6 separate regions of the Homo sapiens genome follow, and all the other regions are linked to region 6. The links are contacts of gene promoters, found by promoter capture Hi-C in blood cells and fetal thymus (Javierre and others, 2016). All regions are on one chromosome and are shown on one strand. The core of a region is centred on a gene start or on the middle of the fragment in contact, and the rest is flanking DNA. Distances in the headings are between cores, read along the strand shown.

Region 1 (3,569 bases), core at 517-3,016, 300 kb before region 6:
AAATGACATGAAATTTGGATTGTCCTTGACAAATCCTGCTATATTCCCAGAAAATCACTAGAGCTGTGACTGGGGCCCATACAGACCTCTAGCAGGAGCAAGAAGGTTTCCTGGACCAAGCGCTACTTAAGTGGGACCTTGAAGGCTAAATAGGTTTCCAGGCAGAGAAAAAGGTGGTGGCCTGGATGCCCTTGGGACAGGACTTACTCTTCCTGCTCTAAAGACAGCACTGGCCGGGTGTGGTGGCTCACGCCTATAATCTCAGCACTTTGGGAGGCCAAGGTGGGAGGATCACTTGAGCTGGGGAGCTCAAGACCAGCCTGGGCAACATAGGGAGACCCTGTATCTACAATTTTTTTTTTTTTTTTTGAGACAGAGTTTCGCTCTTGTTGCCCAGGCTGGAGTGCAGTGGCGTGAATTCAGCTCACTGCAACCTCCGCCTCCCAGGTTCAAGCGATTCTCCTGCGTCAGCCTCCCAAGTAGCTGGGATTACAGGCACCCGCCACCATGCCCGGCTAATTTTTTTTTTTGTATTTTTAATAGAGATGGGGTTTCACCATGTTGGCCAGGCTGGTCTCGAACTCCTGACCTCGTGATTCACCCGCCTCGGCCTCCCAAAGAGCTGGGATTACAGGCGTGAGCCACCGCGCCTGGACTTTTTTTTTTTTTTTTGAAACGGATGGAGTCTTGCTCTGTCACCCAGGCTGGAGTGCAGTGGCGCAATCTCGGCTCACCGCAACCTCTGCCTCCCAGGTTCAAGCGATTCTCTTGCCTCAGCCTCCCGAGTAGCTGGGATTACATACGTGCGTCACCATGCCTGGCTAATTTTTGTATTTTTAGTAGAGACCAGGTTTCACCATGTTGGCCAGGCTGGTCTTGAACTCCTGACCTCAGGTGATCCGCCCGCCTTGGCCTCCCAAAGTTCTGGGATTATAGGCATTAGACACTGCACCCGGCAATTCTTTTTTTTTTAAGAGACAAGGTCTCACCCTGTTACCCAGGCTAGAGTGCAGTGATGTCATCATGGCTCACTGCAGCCTCGATCTTCCAGGCTCAAGTGATCCTCCTACCTCAGCCTCTCAAGTACCTGGGACCACAGGCGCACAACACTATGCCTAGAGTATGTATGTATGTAGAGACGGGATCTCCCTATGTTACCCAGGCTGGTCTTGAACTCCTGGGCTCAAGTGATCCTCCTGCCTCAGCTCAGCCACTGTGCCCAGCCTCTGCAAAATTTTTCTTTTTAAATTAGGTGGCACGTGCCTGTAATTCCAGCTACTCAGGTGGCTGATGTGGGAGGATTGCTTGAGCCTGGGAGGTCCAGGCTGCAGTGGGCCATGATCACACCACTGCACTCCAACCTTGGCCACAGAACAAGACCCTGTTAAAAAAAGAAAGAAAGGAAGAAGGGAGGGAGGGAGGGAGAGAGACAGAAAAGTAGCTTGCTGGGAACTGGTGGTGCTGGCTGAAGTAGGCAACAGTGTTTGTTTTCAGTTACTTTTCACTTTCATTGTTCCAAAGACCAGCCCCAGCCTCCTAGGAAACAAAATTGTTACAGACTAAAACAACGTGGTTACACTGCGTTGTATCTTCCTATGCATTACGGCACTTTCTCACAGTGGACCGTATAGTCTTTGAGGACAGGAACCACATCTATCTTATTCATCTCTGTGTCTCCCTATTTCCCTTCTGCCACCAGGATGGTGTGAGGAAGACTATAGAAGAGGCACTAATAATTGTTGAATGAAGAGTGAAGTACCATTGATGGGCATTTTGTTAGGTAGACAGTGTCCTCTGTTTCATAATGAACCTGTGAACTTTCATTTCATCTGTTTATTCAGCAAGTATGTGCTGGTTGCCTACAATGTGCCTGGTGCTGTTTGGGGCACTGGGGCTCAGGGCGTCTGAGACACACACAGTCCTGCCCACATGGAGCTCACAATCTAGAGGGAGAGAGTGGCAGCTGACAGGTAACTACGAGGGTGATAAAGAGGGAGATGTGAAGTGTATACAGGAAGCCTGGTTTGGATTAGGGTCTGAGGAAAAGCCCAGGAGGAAATTAAGTTTAATTGGAGACTTATAGCTGGGGATGGTGGCATGTACCTGTGGTCCCAGATACTAGAGATGCTGAGATGGGAGGATTGCTTGAGTGCAAGAGTTTGAGGCTGCAGCAAGCTGTGATCTTGCTCACCGTACTTCAGCCCAGATGACACAGCGAGAGCCTGACACATTTAAAAAAAAAAAAAAAAAAAAAAAAGGCTGGTAATCCCAGCACTTTAGGAGGCCGAGGCAGGCAGAGACAGGCAGATTGCTTGAGCTCAGGAGTTCAAGACCAGCCTGGGCAACATGGTGAAACTCTGTCTCTATAAAAAATTAAAAATTAGCTGGGCTTGGTGGCATATGCCTGAAGTCCGAGCTACTTGGGAGGCTGAGGTGGGAGGATTGCTTGAGCCTGGAAGGTCAAGGCTGCAGGGAGCCGTGATCACACCACTGCACTCCAGCCTGCAGGAAAAAAAGAAAAAAGAAAAAAAGAAAAAAAAAAATCTCAGACCTAAAGGATCACAATGAATCATTCATCTAACATTTAAACAGTCAACCCTCTATACCCACAGATTCTGAATCTGTGGATTCGACCGACCATGGATCGAAAACATATTTTAAAAAATTGTCTGTATTGAACATGTGCAGACTTTTTTTGGGTCATTATTCTCTAAAAAATATAGCAATTCTTTGCATACAATTTACATTGTATTAGGTATTACAAGTAATCTAGAGATGATTTAAAGTATATGGGAGGATGTACATAGGTTATATGCAAATATTAAGCCATTTTATATCAGGGATATCCACACATTTTGATATCCATGAAATGTCCTGGAATCATTCCCCCATGGATACTGAGGGACAACTGTAACTGTACAGTGCTTGTCCTATAACAGATAACACACTAAGGGCTTTACATATTTAACTTATGTAATTCTCACAACAGCCCTGGGAGGTATGTTGTACTATTATTATCTACACTTTAGAGAGGAGGGCTGACCACAGAAAGTTTGAAAAACTGGCCCAAAGTCACATAGTTTATATGTGGCAGAGTCAGGATTCAAACCCAGGAAGCCTGGCTTGAGTCCATACTTTATTTTATTTATTTTTTTATTTTAAACTCTAATTTCATGGCATATTATGGCATCCCTACTCTAAATGGGAAATTAGGTAAAGGGGAAGGTGGAGTATACTGCGGAGGGCGGTGGAGCCAATAAGGCAGACAAGGCAAATAATTTATCCTGGGAACTATGGGCCATTCTGGTGGTTTTAATTAGGAAATGGTCATGATGAGGTTGCAATAGAGTCAGAGAGAGGGAGAGACACAGTGAGGAGGCTGTAAACATGGTCACGGCAGAGACCTGTGCAGCTTGGACTAGGGTGGTCGTGATAAAGAAGAGGGCCAGGTGCAGTGACTCACACCTGTAATCCCAGCACTTTGGGAGGCCGAGGCGGATGGATCACAAGATAAGGAGTTCAAGACCAGCCTGGCTAAGATGGTGAAACCCCATCTCTACTAAAGATAC
Region 2 (3,500 bases), core at 643-3,142, 320 kb before region 6:
ATATCTGGCTTTCCTAGGCAGAGGTCCCTGCAGCCTTCCGCAGTGTTTTGTGTCCCTGGGTACTTGAGATTAGGGATTGATGATGACTTTCAAGAAGCATGCTGCCTTCAAGCATTTGTTTAACAAAGCACATCCTGCATAGCCCTAAATCCATTAAACCTTGAGTCGACACAGCACATGTTTCTGCGAGCACAGGGTTGGGGGTAGGGTTACAGATTAATAGCATCTCAAGGCAGAAAAATTTTTCTTAGTACAGAACAAAATGGAGTCTCTTATGTCTACTTCTTTCTACACAGACACAGTAATGGTCTGATCTCTCTTTTCCCCACAAGGTGGGAGAGGGAGCCAGCCTTGCAGGTATCTAAGGGAAGATGGTTATGGGCAGAGGGAGCAGTATGTGCAAAGCCTAGAGGCGGGAGTATGACTGGCATGTTCTAGCAACAGCAAGGAGGCCAGGGTGGCTGGTATGGGGTGAGCCAGGGCAGGCAGGTGAGGAGATGTGACGAGAGGTCACTGGGGGTGGAGAGAGATTGTGTAGACCATGTAGGCCTTAGAGTTCATTGGCTTTTACTGAGTGGAGCCACTGGAAGGTTTTAAGCAGAGGGTGACAGAACTGACTTCTGTTTTAATAGGTGCACTCTGGGTGCTCTGTGGGGTGGGGTGAGGGGCAAAAGTAGAAGCAGGGATGACGGTTAGGAGGCTTTTGCAATAAAGCAAGTGAAAGACATTGGTAGCTAAGACGGAGGAGGCATCAGTAGAGGTAGAAAGAAGTCGCTAATATTTGGTTTTATTTTGAAAATGGGGTCCGATAGCTTCTCGGCCTTTTGGCTAAGATCAAGTGAAAATGGTGGCCGAGTGCAGTGGCTCACGCCTATAATCCCAGCACTTTGGGAGGCCAAGGTGGGTGGATCAATTGAGGTCAGGAGTTCGAGATCAGCCTAGCTAACATGGCAAAACCCCATCTCTACAAAAAATACAAAAATTATCTGGGCATGGTAGCGCGCACCCATACTCCCAGCTACTCGGGAGGCTGAGGCATGAGAATCGCTGGAACCCAGGAGGCAGAGATTGAAATCGTACCACTGCACTCCAGCCTGGGTGACAGAGTGAGACTCTGTCTCAAAAAAAAAAAAAAAAAAAAAGAAAAAGAAAAGAAAATGAGAAAATGGATCCAACAGGATTTACTGATAGATTAAACTAGACATGGGGCATGGGAAAAGAGTGTTGTCAAAGATGATTCTAGCATTTATGGCTGGAGGAACCAGAAGGATGGAGTTGCCCTCAGCTGGGGTAGGGAAGGCAGAGGGTGGAGGAGGTTTTTAGGGGAAGATCAGATGCCCACTCGTAGGCCTGAGTTTGAGCTGTTTATTACATACCCGAGTGGAGCTGTCAGAATGACAGCTGAGATAGATGAATCTGGAATTGAGAAGTGGATCAGGGCTGGAGGTGTAAATTTGGGAGTCTCCAGCATACAGATGGTATTTAAAATCACAAGACTGATTTTAATCACGAGTCCCGCCAAGGGGCTGAGTGTAGATAAAGAAGAGGCTAAGGACTGAGCGTTGAGAGCATGGGGATAAGAGAAGGAGAGAGCCAAGAAAATAAGCCATGAACAGAAATGAAAGGAGACCAGGAGAGGGCACATCCAGAAGGCAACTGGAGAAATGCAATCAAGCAGAAGGGAGTGTGCACCTGTGCCATCGCGCTTAGAGGTCAAGGATAACAAGGGCTAAGGATGACCGTTGGATGTAGCAACATGAAATACTGGGGACTTTGACAACAGCAGCTTGATTGGGGGGCTGGGTGGGGGGAGTGCAAAAGTGTGAATGGAGTAAGAGAGGGAGGTCCACACCTCTTGGACAGCTCTTTCCAATATTTATTTATTTATTTATTTATTTATTTATTTATTTTAAGATAGAGTCCCTCTCTGTTACCAGGCTGGAGTGCAGTGGTGTGATCTCAGCTCACTGCAATCTCCACCTCCTGGGTTCAAGTAATTCCCGTGCCTCAGCCTCCTGAGTAGCTGGGATTACAGGCACACGCCACCACACCCAGCTAATTTTTGTATTTTTAGTAGAGAAGGGGTTTCACCATGTTGGCCAGGATGGTCTCAATTTCTTGACCTCATGATCTGCCCACCTTGGCCTCCCAAAGTGCTGGGATTACAGGTGTGAGCCAGCATGCCTGGCCCAATTATTATTATTTTTTTAATTTTTAAAATTTTGTTATTTTTGAGACAGAGTCTCACTCTGTTGCCCAGGCTTGAGTGCAACCTCTGCCTCCCAGGTTCAAGCGATTTTCATGCCTCAGCCTCCGTATAGCTGGGATTAGAGGTTTGCACCACACACCTGGCTAATTTTTGTATTTTTAGTAGAGATGAGGTTTCACCATGTTGGCCAGGCTGGTCTCGAATTCCTGACCTCAAGTGATTCGCCCGCCTCGGCCTCCCAAAGTGCTAGGATTACAGGCATGAGCCACCGTGCCTGGCCCTCATTTTTCTTTAAATACTGAGTCTCCCTAAGTTGCCCAGGTTGGTCTTGACCTCCTGGGCTCAAGTGGTCCTCCCACCTCGGCCTTCCAAAATGCTGGGATTACAGGTGTGAGCCACCATGCCCAGTTCCTTCATAGACAGCTCTTGAGTTTTTCTGCAGAGGTGTGCCAGGGGGCAGATGGAGAATGGGAATGTGAGATCAAGAGGTTCTTTTTTTTCCTTTTTTAAGGTTGCATCAATAACAGATATTTTAACACTGCTGGGAATAGTCTAGAAGTGAAGGAAAAACATGCTGGAGCCCTGACATTGAGCAGGCAATAGGTAAAGGCCTCTGCTGCGCATGTGGAGGCATCGGCTTTAGGCAGGAATGTGGACAGCTCACCTCAGGTGCTAATGAGGAAGGAAGACGGTGGGGGCAAATGTGGCAGCAGGAGCTGGAGAAAGTTCTCATTCCGGAAGTGGAAAGCAAGCAGCTTCCTCTCAACAACCACAGGAGGTAGAAAATGTTTAATCCCCCCCGTTATAACTGAGGACACAAGGAAAAGGTCAACAGCTCTAAGTGGGGCACCAGGATCTGGGCCCAAGCAGTCTGACTCCAGAGCCCAATTCGTGTAACCTCAGGTACAGGTGTTTTGTAAATATCTGTTGATTGGATGAAGGAAGAGCAAGGAATTAGCCTGCAGCAGCAGAAGCCAAGCCCTTTCCTGGGTCCTCAAGCTCAACCTGGAAGGCCCCGTGCTCCCCATTCTCGGCAGCAGCTCATACTGTCATTTGTCCAGGAGCTCTATCCCCTCCTCCCCTTGAAGGGTAGTTTGCAAATGCAACAGAGGAAGGGTGGGAAGAAGCTGTGGCTCAGAGAGGGTGAGTTTGCTCACCAGGACACACAGCCAGGAATCAGACACCAACTGTGGCCCAGGTGGTCCTGGGACTTGGAGGGAGGACCTTCTCAAAAGTGTTGGCTGCTGTGAAGCTGTCGTGGAGTCATGGGTCTATTGCTGGTCTGAGCCCC
Region 3 (3,613 bases), core at 90-2,589, 420 kb before region 6:
CAGGTGACAAATAGAAAAAGTTTAATAAGTTAATGATATAGTATATCCAATGATAGTTGGTGCTTGCTATAAAAGGCAGGCAAGGGGGATAAGGGATGTCAGACTTCGATTATAAGTAGGGTAGTCAAGGAAGTCTCATTGAGAAGGTGTCATTTGGGCAGAGACCTGAAGGAAATGAGGGAGTGAGCTGTGTAGTTAACAGGGGAGAGAACATTCCAGACAAGAAGAATAGCAAGGCCGCGTTAGAGGCAGGGTGGCCTGACACATTTGAGGACAGCAAGGAGGACACTTTGCCTGAGGTGGAGCAGAGGGAAACTGACTCTTGAAATCTTAGTGTTACCGGCTCACTGCTGGGCACTGACAGATGGTCTTGTTCAAACCAGATAGCAGCCTGCAAGGTAGGTATCGCTGTTGTCCCCATGTTAAGAAGAAATCTGAAGTTCGAAGACGTGACGAGATTAGTTCAGTCCACCCGTGCCCCACATTGCTTAGCCTCATTAGAGTACTTGATATCCTGGCTTATTGACATTTACAGAGACATTGGGCCCTCTGGCCTCTGCTCCAAAGGCCTGGATTCCACCTGGTTCCCTCTGCTTCCACCAAGGGACTGGTACCATTTGGGCCCAGTCTTCTCCCAGCAGACTAGTAGACTGTGGTCATGCCACCTGGATGCCTCAGGTGTCTGGGCTGTGATTCGTGCTTTGGGAAGATTGGCTGGCCACGTCTTTGAAAGCTTTTTTAAAGGTCAAAGGTGGGGAAAACCCTGTCTCATGGCCTCTAGGCATGGATAGTGCCAGAGAGGCTGGGAGCTGGATGAATGCTAGCTTGGAACATTCCACCTCTGGCCTTTCAAAGGGGTTGTCTAAAAAGGTTTTAGTTGGGATTGGTTGTTCTTCTTGTCTCTGGAAGGTTTGGGACAGAACTGGCAGGGCCAAGCAGACATACTTCCCAGAGCAAAAAGACCCTCTTTTTTTTTTTTTTTTTTTTTAAAGAAAGGGTCTTGCTCTGTTGCCCAGGCTGGAGTGCGGTGGCACAAGCATGGCTCACTGCAGCCTCGATATCCTGGGCTCAAGTGATCCTCCCACCTCAGCCTCCTGAGTAGCCGGGACCACCAGTGCATGCCACCATTCTCAGCTAATTTTTAAATTTTTTTATAGAGACAGTCTCACTATGTTGCCCAGACTGGTCTTGAACTCCTGGGCTCAAGTGATCTTCCTGCCTCAGCCTCCCAAAGTGCTGAGATTACAGGTATGAGCCACCATGCCCAGCCAAAAAGACCCTCTTCTGAACCACCTGTCTATACAAGTCATGAGTTTGGGGAGATCTGGGCCCAAGAAGGATCCTTACTGTGCTGGGGATTAATTGTGGCTTTCTCTTTACCTCTCTGCAGAAGTGTTTCCTGGCTCAGCCCGTAACCCTTCTGGACATCTATACACACTGGCAACAGTAAGTGGTGGGGCCTATAGGGTGGAGTAGGGACGGACACCCCAAGCAACTCAGCTTGGAATAAGCTGGGATACCTATCTGGTCTAAGATCTGTCCCCATAGCCCACTGTGGACACCATTGTTGCCTCCAGAAAGCCAGCTCACATCACATGGATGGGTATTTCTGTGTGGATATCTGGTAGTGGGAGGGGACATTGAGAGCTGTGATCTCTTAAGAACAAGAGCTTCTCACCAGCTTGTCAGTTGCTCAGCAAACGTATATTGAGCACCTCCTGAAAGCCAAGTCCTGTTCTTACTTAGTATGCAAATATTGTCACAAGTGAGACAGACATGGTTCCTTCTTTCCTGCAGCTGACATTGTAGCCAAGGAGGTAGGCATAAGTCAAAGAATGAAACAAATGAATGTTAAATTACAGTGGTAGTAAGGATTACAAAAGAGAGGAATCTGTTGCCACAGCCACATAAATGGGTAAGTCTGGCTTCATCTGGGGGTCCAGGGGAAGCTTCCCTGAGGTGATCTTTGACTTGAGAGCTATAGGAATTGGAGGAGTGAACTATGCAGTGGGTAGAGAGTGGCAGGTGGAGTGTACCTGCCAGTGGAAATTGCTAATGCTAAGTCCTGTGGCTGGTGGACAGTACAGATGGGGCTAGGTCATCGCATGGATAGCCATGCATGGGCTGGTTATCCATGGTGAGGAATTTTGTCTTTATCCAAGAGCAGTGGGGCCATGGTAGGGTGAAAAAGTGAGGAGATTGCTCTGCACCATGGTGAGACTGGTGGGGCCATGGTCACCATCGTCCAGGCAAGAGCTGATGGGGCTTGACACAGGGAGAACAGGGTAGAAAGTGGATTCCCAAGAATCATAGGGATGAAACCAGGGCCTGTGGATGGGTGGGAGAGGAAGTATCTTATTGACTCCACATCTAACTTGTGTACCCATGCATAGAGCTTGAAGGGAACTCAGTTTGGAGGGGAAAGATTTCAATGACATGTTGAGTGTGAGATGCCTTTTAAACATGTAAAATTTATGTACTCTTCAAGGAAGGGGGAATCATCCAAGGATATATCAACAGAGGAATGGTTGGAAAATGGAGAGAGTAATTGTGTTCTCTTCATGCACTGGCCTGACCACAGCTGACTAAGGGAGTGAAGGACATGCAGACATATCCCATGAGGAATGGTAGAGAGTACTGAATTGCCTTGGATGGAAAGGAGGCAGGAGAGGGGTGTGAGGGACCACTGCACATCTTTGAGGACCAAGAATAGTGCGTTCTCTGAGGCCCCGGAGACAGAAGTGGGCCCCAAATGTACCTGCTTCAGGAAGACAGGTTTCAGCTTCTGAATATAATGACATCAGAGCTATCTAAAAATGAGGTGGGCTAGGTGGAAGTGGTGGGCTCCCTGTCATTAGAGGTGTGTAAACAAAGGCAAAAATGGTGTGGAAGGGATTACAGCCTCTGGTGGAGAGCTAAGGTCTTTGAAAACCCTGCCAACCCTCAGTCCTCTGCTGCTAAGGAGAGCTTAGAGCACAGGGCACAGCCCACACTTCCTCACCCTGACTTGCCCAGGTGAGTGGGTGTTATTCGTAGTACTTCCTTCCCCCAAAAAACTGCTTCAGTGAGCTACTCTGCACACTCTTCCCTGCCACTGGCCCCTTCTATGGGTGAGGGGGACAAGGACCTCAAACCCACGAAAGGCAGCCTAGCCTAGCAATTCCCTGCAGAGTTCAAACCCAGCAACTAGCTGTATGTATGACCTTGAGTGGATTTCTTGGCCTCCCTGAGTCTGTCTTCACCTATAAAATGAAAATAATGATGGCAATTATCTCATTGCATTGTGAGGGTTAGACACAGTGCTCCATATAAAGTGCTAAAACTACCGGTTGGAGGCTCCCCGACTTCCTGCACCCGCCTCAGTATTTATTAAGCATCTACTACAACCCAGCAATATTCTTGATATAGCTGGGAACAAACCAGAGAAAAATCCCTGCTCAACATTTTTGTTGGGGGAAAAGAGGCAGAATAAATTGATACATGTAAAAATGAAACCTGTTTTTAACAGGAGAATCCTGACAAGTGGCTTTCCTGGGAACAAGGGACCCTACTATCACATCCCAAACCATGACAGAGCAGAGTCCATCGCAGCTGGGAAACCTGGGGCCTAGAC
Region 4 (3,237 bases), core at 30-2,529, 280 kb before region 6:
CCCAACAAGCTCACTGTCAGGTGGTGAGATGTGCCTGGAAGAAAAATAAAACTGGCTTGTGGGTCAAGAGTGTGATTTGGGGGAGTGACCCAGCCATGTCAGGTGGTCAGGATGGTCCCTGGTGAGGGGCAGTAGACTCCGGGAGGGTGGCCCACGGGAAATTGAGGGAAGAATTTTCCAGGCAGAGGGAGCTGCAGGGCAAAGGCGCTGGAACTGGAGGGCATGGGTGGCCAGAGGCAGGGCTGAAAGAATGAGAGGATGGTGGAGGAGAGGGGCCAGAGGGCATGTGGAGACAGGTAGGGCCTCTTGGCCATGGGGAGGACTTTGTTGTTTGAGTCTGAGTGGAGGGGAAGCTGCTGGCGGGCCCGATGTGAGGACTGACTGGTTTGGGTACACATTTTAGAGAGACTGCTGGGGGTGAGGGTGGACGCAGGATGACTAGCTGGGAGGCTGCTGCAGTCTTGCCACGAGAGAGGTTGGGCGAGTCAGTGGTGGGTGGGGACGGCGGGGGAGCAACCAGGGGTTGGTTCTGGATTTATTTTGCAGGATGAGCTGATGGGATTTGCTGATGGATTAGATGTGGGGTGTGAGAATAGAGTGTTGACCGCAAGGTTTCTGGCTTGAGGAACTGGAAGGACAGTTGGACAGTATTGCTATTTACCAAGACAGAGAAGGCTGTGGGACAAGCAGGTTTGGGAAGAGCAATTAAGATTTGGGGTCAGCTGTGCTGGGGTGGGGCCTATGCTGGTGGGGGAGGGGCATGGTGCACATGGGTGCTGGGTCCTGCATGTTCCTGTTGCTGTCAGGAACAGCAACAGGGGTTGTGTGAGGGGCCCCAATGCTAGGAGTCTGTTCTGTGAGAACAAATGTTTCCTGGTCCCTTCATGTCCTTTTCTCTCTCTGCAAACCTCCCTCTGCTTTTCTCTTCCTTTTGGACGAGGAAAAAGGCAGATTCTGAAGCCTCATTGTCACTGTGATGGTCCTAGCCTTTCTGCCTGGCATGCCTCCTGACAGGGAGTTCCTTCTGGGGTAGGCAAGGTTGGGGGCGGAAGGGTGGGGTGGAGGTTCAGGCCTTATCCTGGCTCTGCTACCAACAGAGCTCTTTGCCTTGGTTTCCCCTCCTGTATGGAGAAGGGTTGAGGTGGCCCCAGGGTTCTGAGGGTGGCAGGGAGCATTTGAGGAGGCCACATGGCACAGTGGTTAAGAATCTGGGCTTGGGGTCAGGCAGGCATGGGCATGAATCCTTGCCTGCTGCTTGGCTGTGAGACTGTGGACGAGTAACATAACCTCTCTGAGCCTCAATTTTCTCATCTGTAGAAATGGGCCAGTGATAGTACCTGCCTCACAGGGTTACTGTGAGGTTGAATGAGGAAATGTCCATAAAGCACTTAGTGCCAGGTGCAGTGACTCGTGCCTGTAATCCCAGCACTTTGGGAGGCTGAGGCTGGTGGATCACCTGAGGTCAGGAGTTCGAGACCAGCCTGACCAATATGGAGAAACCCCGTCTCTACTAAAAATACAAAATTAGCCAGACACGGTGGCACACACCTATAATCCCAGCTACTCAGGAGGCTGGGGCAGGAGAATCATTTGTACCTGGGAGGTGGAGGTTGCTTGTGGTGAGCCGAGATTGTGCCATTGCACTCCAGCCTGGGCAACAAGAGTGAAATTCTGTCTCAAAAAAATAAACAAACAAAAAAATAAAGCACTTAGCAAGGCCCTGGCATATAGCACACCTAGTAAACCAAGGCCTCTGCTCACAGTGACCCATGCAGGCAGGCAGGTAAGGGGCTTGGCCTAGTGAGTGGGAGGAACCGTGGGAGGTTATTGAATAGGAGCATGCCAGGCATGTGGTTTGATGGGGCAGCTGTGAGTGTGGAGACTTGGGCTGAGTTTTCTTAGCAAGTCCAAGAGCCCCTTCCACCTTCCAGAGTGAGAGCTGCGGGCCGGCCCTAATGGACCATCTTCCTTTCCCTAGCCAAGGGTCTTCATTGGCTTGGCATGGGCAGCCTCTGTTTTGCACAGGTCCCTTGGGGTGGGGTGGTCATTTTCCTTAAGGCCTCCTATAGGACCCCTTGTCTCTATATCCCAGTGGCTAGCCTTAGGGAAATGTGAGGGAAGGGCTTTGGGGGTGTGTGACATCAAAGGGACTTAATTTACGTGTAGGTAGGGCTCTGGACAGGGCTGATGGGTCAGGCGGATCCTGGAGTGGCAGTCCACTGGACACTGGGAGTGACCTCGGTTTCTGGTCTGCATCCAGGCTGGGTGGTGCTTGCTCCAGCAGAGCCGTGGAGAGGTTGACAATGGGTGGAATGTGGCCCCTTCAGAACCCACACTTCACTGGTGCCCAGGCATGCCAGCCAAGCCCTCTGCTTCTGCAAGCCTGTTTCCCAGCAGTTGAGCTGTGCCAGGACAGCCAAGGACATTTCAGAGTCCCCAGGGCTCATAGCCAGGCTGTCACCGGGCATTGCTTATTTTCCCAGGGCCCAGGAGTCTTCAGGGATGGTGGGGGTTCTGGAGATGTTCCAAGGACTTTTCTTAACAGCTTGGTAAATTGAGGTCTGGAGAGAGCAAGGCACTTGACCAAGGTCTCACAAGGCCGCCTCCCTCATATCTGCCACTCCCCTCTGTTTCCGTGTCCTCTGCACAGACTCCTGGCCTTCTGCCTGGACGTTTGTAACAACCTCCCTCTTGTGGGCTCCCTAAGAGCTTTGTTTGTCCTCCATTATCGTAATCTTGCCATAATCTGCCAGATGCACACACTATTTGATGTGTCTACCTCCTGTCCCCTCCACTGACTGCCCGTGACAGAGTCTCCCCGACAGAGCTGTGCAGCATGAGGTTTAGGCCCCAGGCTCTGGAGCCAGTCTGAACTCTGTTTGGATGCCAGCTCTGCCCCTTCCTGGCCTGGTGACCTTGGGCATGATACCCTACTTTTCTGAGCTGCTGTCTTTGTGAAATGAAAACAGTAGCAATACTTAGTTGATAGGAATGTCAGGACAGTTAAATGGGATAACGTGTGAAATGCAGAGTACAACACCTGGTACCAAGTAAACTCTCAGAAATGGTCATCATTGTCCCAAAGGCCCATCAGTTGGTTGAACTGGAAAGTCGTGAGCATGGAGGAGTAGACCCAAGCTTGGACTGGGAGGCAGAGGATGTGGGCTCCAAGTTCATCTCAAACATTGTGTTCCTGTGTGCGTGTTGGGAAGCCACTTATCCTCTGGAAACCCCACT
Region 5 (3,387 bases), core at 336-2,835, 480 kb after region 6:
TGTTATCCCAGCTTCATAGGTATGGAGTCTCATAGATGAGGCTCAGGGACGGGGGTGCCTCACCCAAGGTCACTCTGCCAGGAGCTCATTTTTCCTGTGATCTGTGATAGTTTCTTTTGTCAACCTTTTTCTTCTTCTCCTTCCTTGCTGCCTGATTGTCCCCAGCCATCCCAGCTCAGTAGCTTTTCCTGGGATAACTGTGATGAAGGGAAGGACCCTGCGGTGATCAGAAGCCTGACTCTGGAGCCTGACCCCATCATCGTTCCTGGAAATGTGACCCTCAGTGTCATGGGCAGCACCAGTGTCCCCCTGAGTTCTCCTCTGAAGGTGAGCCTGGGGGTGGGTGGAGAAGGGGAGGTGCGAGGGTCTGGCCAGCAGGGGTACTGGGGCATGTATGCTTGGGGAACTGTGAAGAATTTCAGAATCCTGGATTCCCAGAGAATAGTACAGGACATGTAGATTCAGACACTCTTTCACAGGTTCATGGAATCTCAGGATCATAAGATTGAAAGGAATCTCTGATGTCAGCGCCAGCAACTTCCTGGTGAGGGCAGGAGTGACGGATACCTTGCACCTGGCAGAAGCGTCCTGGCCTTCTCTGGGCCTGGTGGCCAACTGCTCATTATTGTCTGACAGCTCTGGTTGGCCAATTTGGTTTTGTTGTTAATTATAAAATTGATATACCAATTAGCCAGTAATATATAGTCACTTTAGAAAACACAAGTGGTCAAAAAATAAATAAAATAGGCCAGGTGTGGTGGCTCATGCCTGTAATCCCAACACTTTGGGAGGCTGAGGTGGGTGGATCTTTTGAGGTCAGGAGTTTGAGACCAGCCTGGCCAACATAGTGAAACCCCATCTCTACTAAAAGTACAAAAATTAGCTGGGCGTGGTGGCATGTGCCTGTAATCCTAGCTACTCAGGAGGCTGAGGTAGGAGAATTGCTGGAACCCAAGAGGCAGAGGTTGCAGAAAGCCAGGATCGCACCACTGCACTCCAGCCTGGGTGACAGAGTGAAACTCTGTCCCAAAATAAATAAATAAATAAAATAAATCACTTGAAATCTCACTACCTAGTGATAAGGGATAAGCACTTTTAACATCTTATAGGATATTCTTTGCAACTTTCCCCCATACAATTACATACATAACACACATATTTATTTTTAATGGATATGTATGATAATAGGCAGTGCTCATTGTAAATGTCCTCCAGTAATCTAAATCCTAGAGATAGTCAGTGTTTGCTCTTTATATATCCCATCAGAATTTTTATGTGTTTGTAAATATATACACACTTATACTCATGGGATTATATGATATGTGCTATTATACTTGCTATTTTTTTTGCCTCATACTATATGTCCATATCTTTCCAAGGATTAGGTGGCTCTACTTATTCAATTTTTTTTTATCCAATCATTATTTTATTATTTTAATGTATTGTAATTTTAGAGACAGTGTGTCACTCTGTTGCTCAGGCTGGAGTGCAGTAGTGTGATCATGGCTTACTGCAGCCTTGACCTCCTGGGCTTAAGGGATCCTCCCACCTCAGCCTCCTGAGTAGCTGGGACCACAGGTTCATGTCACCATGCTTACCTAATTTTTTTATTTTTTATGGAGACGGAGCCTCCCTGTGTTGCCCAGGCTGGTCTCAAACTCCTGAGTTCAAGCAATCCTCCTGCCTCAGACTCTCAAAATGTTGGGATTATAGGCGTGAGCCACCTTGCTCAGCCCACCCAATCATTTTTAATGGCAGAAATATTCTGATGTGGATCTTTCATAATTTATATAACAAGTCTATTGTTGAACATTTAGTTTGTTTCCAGGGTAGTTTTTATTTGTTTGTTTGTTTATTTGTTTGTTTTGAGACAGGTTCTTACTCTGTTGCCTAGGCTGGAGTGCAGTAGCGCAATCTCAGCTCCCTGCAACCTCCACTTCCCGGGTTCAAGCGATTCTCCTGTCTCAGCCTCCCAAAGTGCTGGGATTACAGGCACCTGCCATTGCGCCCCACTAATTTTTGTATTTTTAGTAGAGATGGGGTTTCACCATGTTGGCCAGGCTGGTCTTGAACTCCTGACCTCAGGCAATGTGCCTGCCTCGGCCTCCCAAAGTGCTGGGATTACAGACACCTGCCACCATGCCCAGCTACTTTTTGTATTTTTAGTAGAGATGGGGTTTCACCATGTTATCCAGGCTGGTCTTGAACTCCTGACCTCAGGCAATCCACCTGCCTCAGCCTCCCAAAGTGCTGGGATTATAGGCTTGAGCCACTGTACCTGGCCAGAGGGTTTTTTTTGTTTGTTTGTTTTTTGTTTTGCTGTAGTAACCACCTTTGTAGAAATTATTCTTATAGTACATCTTTTTATAATTTTCTGATTCTCTAGATACACACTTTTTAGGTCTTTTGATACATTTTGCCAAAGTGCCTCCCAATGTTTGAATAAACCTGCATCATTCCTAGTGAGCGTAGATGTCTATTCATAAGTTTATTTGCCTTTTGTATTTACTTTGGGAATAACCTGTTTGTTTCCATCCATTGACTATTTTAGGGGTGTATGTTTTTATATTTTCTTAGAAAACAATGAAGACTTTTCATATATCCATTGCAACACCATTTAATATGGTCCTTTCCTCTCTAGCTAAAATTGCTACCTTTATATGATGCTCCTCTATGCCCTTCAGTCTGTTCCTGATCCAGATCTATTCTAGTACCAGTTTTGTGTTAATTATTTAGAAGATTCCTGATTTGGATTCTGTGTTTCTATCATTATCCTTAGACCTGTCTTAATCACAGCTCCTACGTTATGGGCTTTCCTTGAGCAATACCTGAGTTAGAAAATCATGTGGAAAGTGCTTTGCACAGGGCCTGGCACCCAGGACATGCTCAGTACATTTTATATCTTGTGAACATTTCGATTAGTATCTGTCTTATCCTGCAGTCTCTTGACCCAGACACAAGTCCTGGATATGTGGCAGCTTTCAGCTCCCCTGCACCTCCTACCAAGCCTTTTCCTAGCAGAGTCATTGTGTTTCCATTACTGTTCCTCAAGTGATAGGGGGTCAAGCCCTGTACCCTTGGATCTGGGCCAAGGGATGGAATCATTCCCTATGTATGGACACTGGACTGTTTCTCTGCCAGGGTCACACACATTTATTTGTGTGCTCCCTCTGCTGATCTGGAGTGTGGGCTCTCCTGGTAGGCCGTCCGCCATGCTCCCTCTGCTGCCATCACCATGCAGCCACTGGTGTTTCCAGGGAGGGGGCTATGCAGCTGACTTGGAAACAAGAAGCTGGCAAACCCGCTCTTCTGCCCTCAGCCTGCTTTTCCTGGCTTCTTCACAAACCATTAAGATGGGTTTTACTCCCTATTCTCCTTTTCCATTGC
Region 6 (3,399 bases), core at 352-2,851:
CACTCCTGCATCCCAACACAGCATCCATTATTCTTCCCTTCAGTGCTCTCTTTGCAAAATCAGTCTAGCCTAGGCAGCAGACTTAACATGGTATGCTCCTGTGGGGATTCATACTTTATTTCTGGCTTGCTTTTAGGGTCCCAGGGCAAGTCGATATTAAAGAGATACTAATAAATTGCTAAATGGAAAGGGAGACTAGGACTCAGCTGGCTCCAGGCCTGAGCTTCTGCCTTGTCCCAGAGGGAAGCCAATGTTCACAGCAGGGCACATGGAGTTACCAGTTGTCCACCCAAAGGAACTCTCATCCCCTTCACTAACCAGGGAAAATGTCATATTAAGATTGTCCTCCTGTTGCAGTGAGCCGAGATCATGCCACTGCACTCCAGCCTGGGCGACAGAGCGAGACTCCGTCTCAAAAAAAAAAAAAAAAAAAAAAAAGATTGTCCTCCTTCAATCTTTTTTTACTATTAAATGAGAGCTTTGTATTAAACTATTCAGAATTGGGTTGTCCTTGTTTTTAGGTTCCCACACTATCTCTTTTGAATAAAACATGTTGTTGGGTGACAGCCCTTAGGGTTTTTCTCAAATCATTTCTCATGTGAATCCCCTTCATCCTCACTGTCCTTCCCTTAAGAAACTGGCGTGTGATAATGATGATTTAGAGGTCATTTCTGCTGACCTCATCCCTGAATCAGAGGAAACAGCATGGAGTAAGTTCTAAGTTCGGGGCCCACACCATATCAAATTTAGGCCTGGGGAAGGCAGTATGGCTCTTTCCAAACCCTCCAAAACACTACTGGGCTCCAAGACTGCTCAAGGTCTCACTGATAGTCAAGGCTTGTGCTCCTTTTTTTCAGAAGAGTAAGATTAAAGAAAACCACTGTGAATTAAAAAGTGTGGGTGCCAACATGGGACGGGAGTCCCCCCTCACTCCATGGATGACATAGAGGGGGCAGAAGATTACAGAATTGGCATTGTCCTGCGTGGAAGCTGGGCCACCCACAGTGGCGTGGGAAGCCTCTCAGATGCTGGATTCTAATGGGCTCTTGATCACCTTGGATTGGGCTATTTCATTGTTATCACAAAATAAACAGGATGCTCCAAGTCATGTTATGGCAGAGAACCAACCAGCTTCACACTGGTCCTCTAAACCAATCCTCACAACAGGACTGGGAGACAGGTGTTACCTTTCCCACTTTACAGAGAATGAAACAGAGTGGCAAAGCCTCCGAAGGACCCTACACTTCGGACATCGCAAAGCAGGATCTGAGTCCCGGCTCCTCTGTCCAAACCTACTTGCTAGGCTTTCTTTCCCATGTCTACTCTATAGCTGGAAAGGTCGTGGAGGACACATTTTAGGCCAACCCTCTCGGTTTACAATCCAGAGAGGGGAGACCCTCAGAAGCCAAGCGACATGTCCACGGCTACGCGGCGAGTGTGTGGCAACGTGGAAGGGGAGCCCGAGACGCCCTGGTCTCTCCCTTCTCTCGCAGGTTCCTTTCTCCCCGAACGCAGCCCGCAGGGGACGCTGGAGGAGGAGCTGAGCTGGAGTTGCCGGGGCCCCGGGACCGGGCGTTCCGGGGGCGGTCCCCAGCAGCCGCGCATTCCAGAGCCAGCAGCGCGTCCTGGCCGCTCCTGCGCTCTCCCGCCTCCCGGGGCTCGGAGGAGCCGGGGCACGTTCCAGGAGCTGCCTAGGGCTGAGGTTCCAGGCCTGGGGGTCGCTTCCAGCTGCCAGATCCCGTGCAGTCCTGGGGACCCTGAGAAGCACCGAGCCATCCCTGACCCAGGAACTTTCCGCAGACTCGCCGCCATCTGGGGTGAGTGGGGCCACCGGGGGATTGTTTGTGGGGCTCTGGCAGAGCGGAGCTCTTCGGATTCGCGACCTACCTCTAGTGCGGCCCCTTTCCCCGGGCTCCCAACGTTCTTCTTTATGTCCGGTCTCTCCTCCCCATTTCTCCCTTTTCATCACTTTTGTATTTCTTGCCCTCACCCCCTCCTTTTTCTCCTGCTGTCAGCTCTTAAGTTCGAGCCTCCTAGTGCACAGAATTTTGGGCCTGGGGGAGGCGGAGCTTGGGTGGGCGAACCCCAGCCCCACTCGGAGACTGGCTTCTCTCCGGGTCCGCTGCCCTTGCCTTCTCGGGAAGCCTCCTCCTCGGGCAGACTGCCACCTCCTGGCTCTCCAGGCCCAGCGTCAGGGTTCAGCGCCCGGGCCTGAGCACCTGCTTGGGCGCTGCGCTGGGTTTGGGTCTTTGCACTTACCTGTCCCGCTTTTCTCGAGGCCCCGTGTAGAAGGCGCCAGGAGTTTGGAGTCAGGAGTGGCGGGTTCCAGCCCTGGTTCTGTCACTAACTGCTTCACCATCCTTGTTTTTCCATCAGTGAAATTGGGAAAACATTTTCTGCGTGCAGAAAGCAAAGGAGAAAGGACATGAGCAAAGTATCTTGGAGAGAAGGCTTCCTTCAAGCTCCCTCCTGCTGGTTAGCTGTCCCTTTCCTGAGGACGTAGTTGTTCCAGTTGCTGGTTGTTTTGCTCCCTAGTCTCCCCCATGCCAGTTTCTTGAGGGTAGGGACTGCCTGTCTATCGTCATCTCTGAGGCATTCTCAGCTCTTGGAGCAGGGCCTGGCTAACAGTAGGTGCTCCATACATATGTACTGAGTGAAAGGATGAAAGGTGTAACCCCCCCCGCCCCCCCCACAAATTGAAACAAACCTCAGGGGCTGTTATTCTGATTGAGGGCCAGGCTGGGCTCTTACTTATGCAGCTGCACTTGTTTCTTCTGGACCAGCTGGAATCCTGCTGCACCTGGGGGCTGAGGAGTCTCCGGTTCATCTGTGGTGAATACTAAGGTCCTCAAAGCTCCAGGGTGTGGTGGTGAAGGCTGCGCAATCACACAAGTATCAGAGATTCCTTGAACATCTGCTATGATGCGTGCTGCTACTGCAGTGGCCACATAGTTTGGAAGGATTGGGGATGCCTGAATTAGGTGGAGGTGGGAGCGGGAAGAACAGGTACTCTGGGGGTTAGGAGACCCTCTGAATTACCCTAATGGAGGCATTTCCCCTCTCTGGCCCTTGTCTTCCCTATCTGTAAAATGAAGACATGGGAGTGGAACAGATGTTTGTCTGTGGTTGAGCATGACATGCTCTTTGGTTTATGCAGGCCGCACAGCAGCCATCTAGACACACGCAAAGCAGCACAGCTGAGCTTTAGGACATCATGTGCTTCTGCAGTGACAACTGAAAAAAACTAAAAAGTGTTTTCCTGCTCCAGCCGGGACCTCCTGTTCCCAGCTGTCCTGGGACTGTGAATCATGCTGTGGGGGTTACAAGTCATGCTTCATGAACTCTCCCACAAGTGACCTCTCCGAACCTCAGAACTGTGGCTCCATGACACTAAAGATC

Evidence for each region. The method cuts DNA at HindIII sites, captures the fragments that hold promoters and counts their contacts. A CHiCAGO score of 5 or more calls a contact.
Region 1: a contact is called between a fragment that was not itself captured here and the fragment with the promoter of SMIM3 in region 6, in 2 of 17 cell types (megakaryocytes and M2 macrophages). The highest score is 5.0, in megakaryocytes.
Region 2: a fragment that was not itself captured here is called in contact with the fragment with the promoter of SMIM3 in region 6 in 10 of 17 cell types (naive CD4 T cells, naive CD8 T cells, total CD4 T cells and 7 more); the score reaches 15.3 in naive CD4 T cells.
Region 3: a fragment that was not itself captured here is called in contact with the fragment with the promoter of SMIM3 in region 6 in 2 of 17 cell types (activated CD4 T cells and total CD4 T cells); the score reaches 7.0 in activated CD4 T cells.
Region 4: a fragment that was not itself captured here is called in contact with the fragment with the promoter of SMIM3 in region 6 in 1 of 17 cell types (megakaryocytes); the score reaches 6.6 in megakaryocytes.
Region 5: a fragment that was not itself captured here is called in contact with the fragment with the promoter of SMIM3 in region 6 in 1 of 17 cell types (neutrophils); the score reaches 5.1 in neutrophils.

Annotation. Positions count from the first base shown.
Region 1 is chr5:150,477,695-150,481,263 of GRCh38, forward strand. All of the region lies in intron 2 of NDST1-AS1 (NDST1 antisense RNA 1), which reads right to left. Among named protein-coding and RNA genes, the nearest start is that of NDST1-AS1, 6.5 kb to the right of the region's middle. The HindIII fragment of the contact is 7,537 bases long and covers 1-3,569 here.
Region 2 is chr5:150,454,388-150,457,887 of GRCh38, forward strand. No RefSeq gene overlaps it. Among named protein-coding and RNA genes, the nearest start is that of RPS14, 6.4 kb to the left of the region's middle. The HindIII fragment of the contact is 6,015 bases long and covers 1-3,500 here.
Region 3 is chr5:150,359,766-150,363,378 of GRCh38, forward strand. TCOF1 (treacle ribosome biogenesis factor 1) reads left to right here. Exons shown (of 27, transcript NM_001371623.1): 2 at 1,391-1,446. Among named protein-coding and RNA genes, the nearest start is that of TCOF1, 3.9 kb to the left of the region's middle. RefSeq lists a silencer at 2,864-3,003. The HindIII fragment of the contact is 1,216 bases long and covers 732-1,947 here.
Region 4 is chr5:150,501,769-150,505,005 of GRCh38, forward strand. It overlaps a transcript of NDST1 not described here. Among named protein-coding and RNA genes, the nearest start is that of NDST1, 4.7 kb to the right of the region's middle. RefSeq lists enhancers at 1-264, 265-823. The HindIII fragment of the contact is 3,713 bases long and covers 1-3,136 here.
Region 5 is chr5:151,259,590-151,262,976 of GRCh38, forward strand. GM2A (ganglioside GM2 activator) reads left to right here. Exons shown (of 4, transcript NM_000405.5): 2 at 166-327. Among named protein-coding and RNA genes, the nearest start is that of GM2A, 8.1 kb to the left of the region's middle. The HindIII fragment of the contact is 6,835 bases long and covers 1-3,387 here.
Region 6 is chr5:150,777,156-150,780,554 of GRCh38, forward strand. SMIM3 (small integral membrane protein 3) reads left to right here and starts at 1,602. Exons shown (of 2, transcript NM_032947.5): 1 at 1,602-1,817. LOC124901110 reads right to left here and starts at 3,246. Exons shown (of 2, transcript XM_047417995.1): 1 at 2,752-3,246; 2 at 1-2,396. The coding sequence starts at 1,966. The coding sequence ends at 1,325. RefSeq lists a silencer at 1,497-1,686 and an enhancer at 2,124-2,985. The HindIII fragment of the contact is 6,508 bases long and covers 1-3,399 here.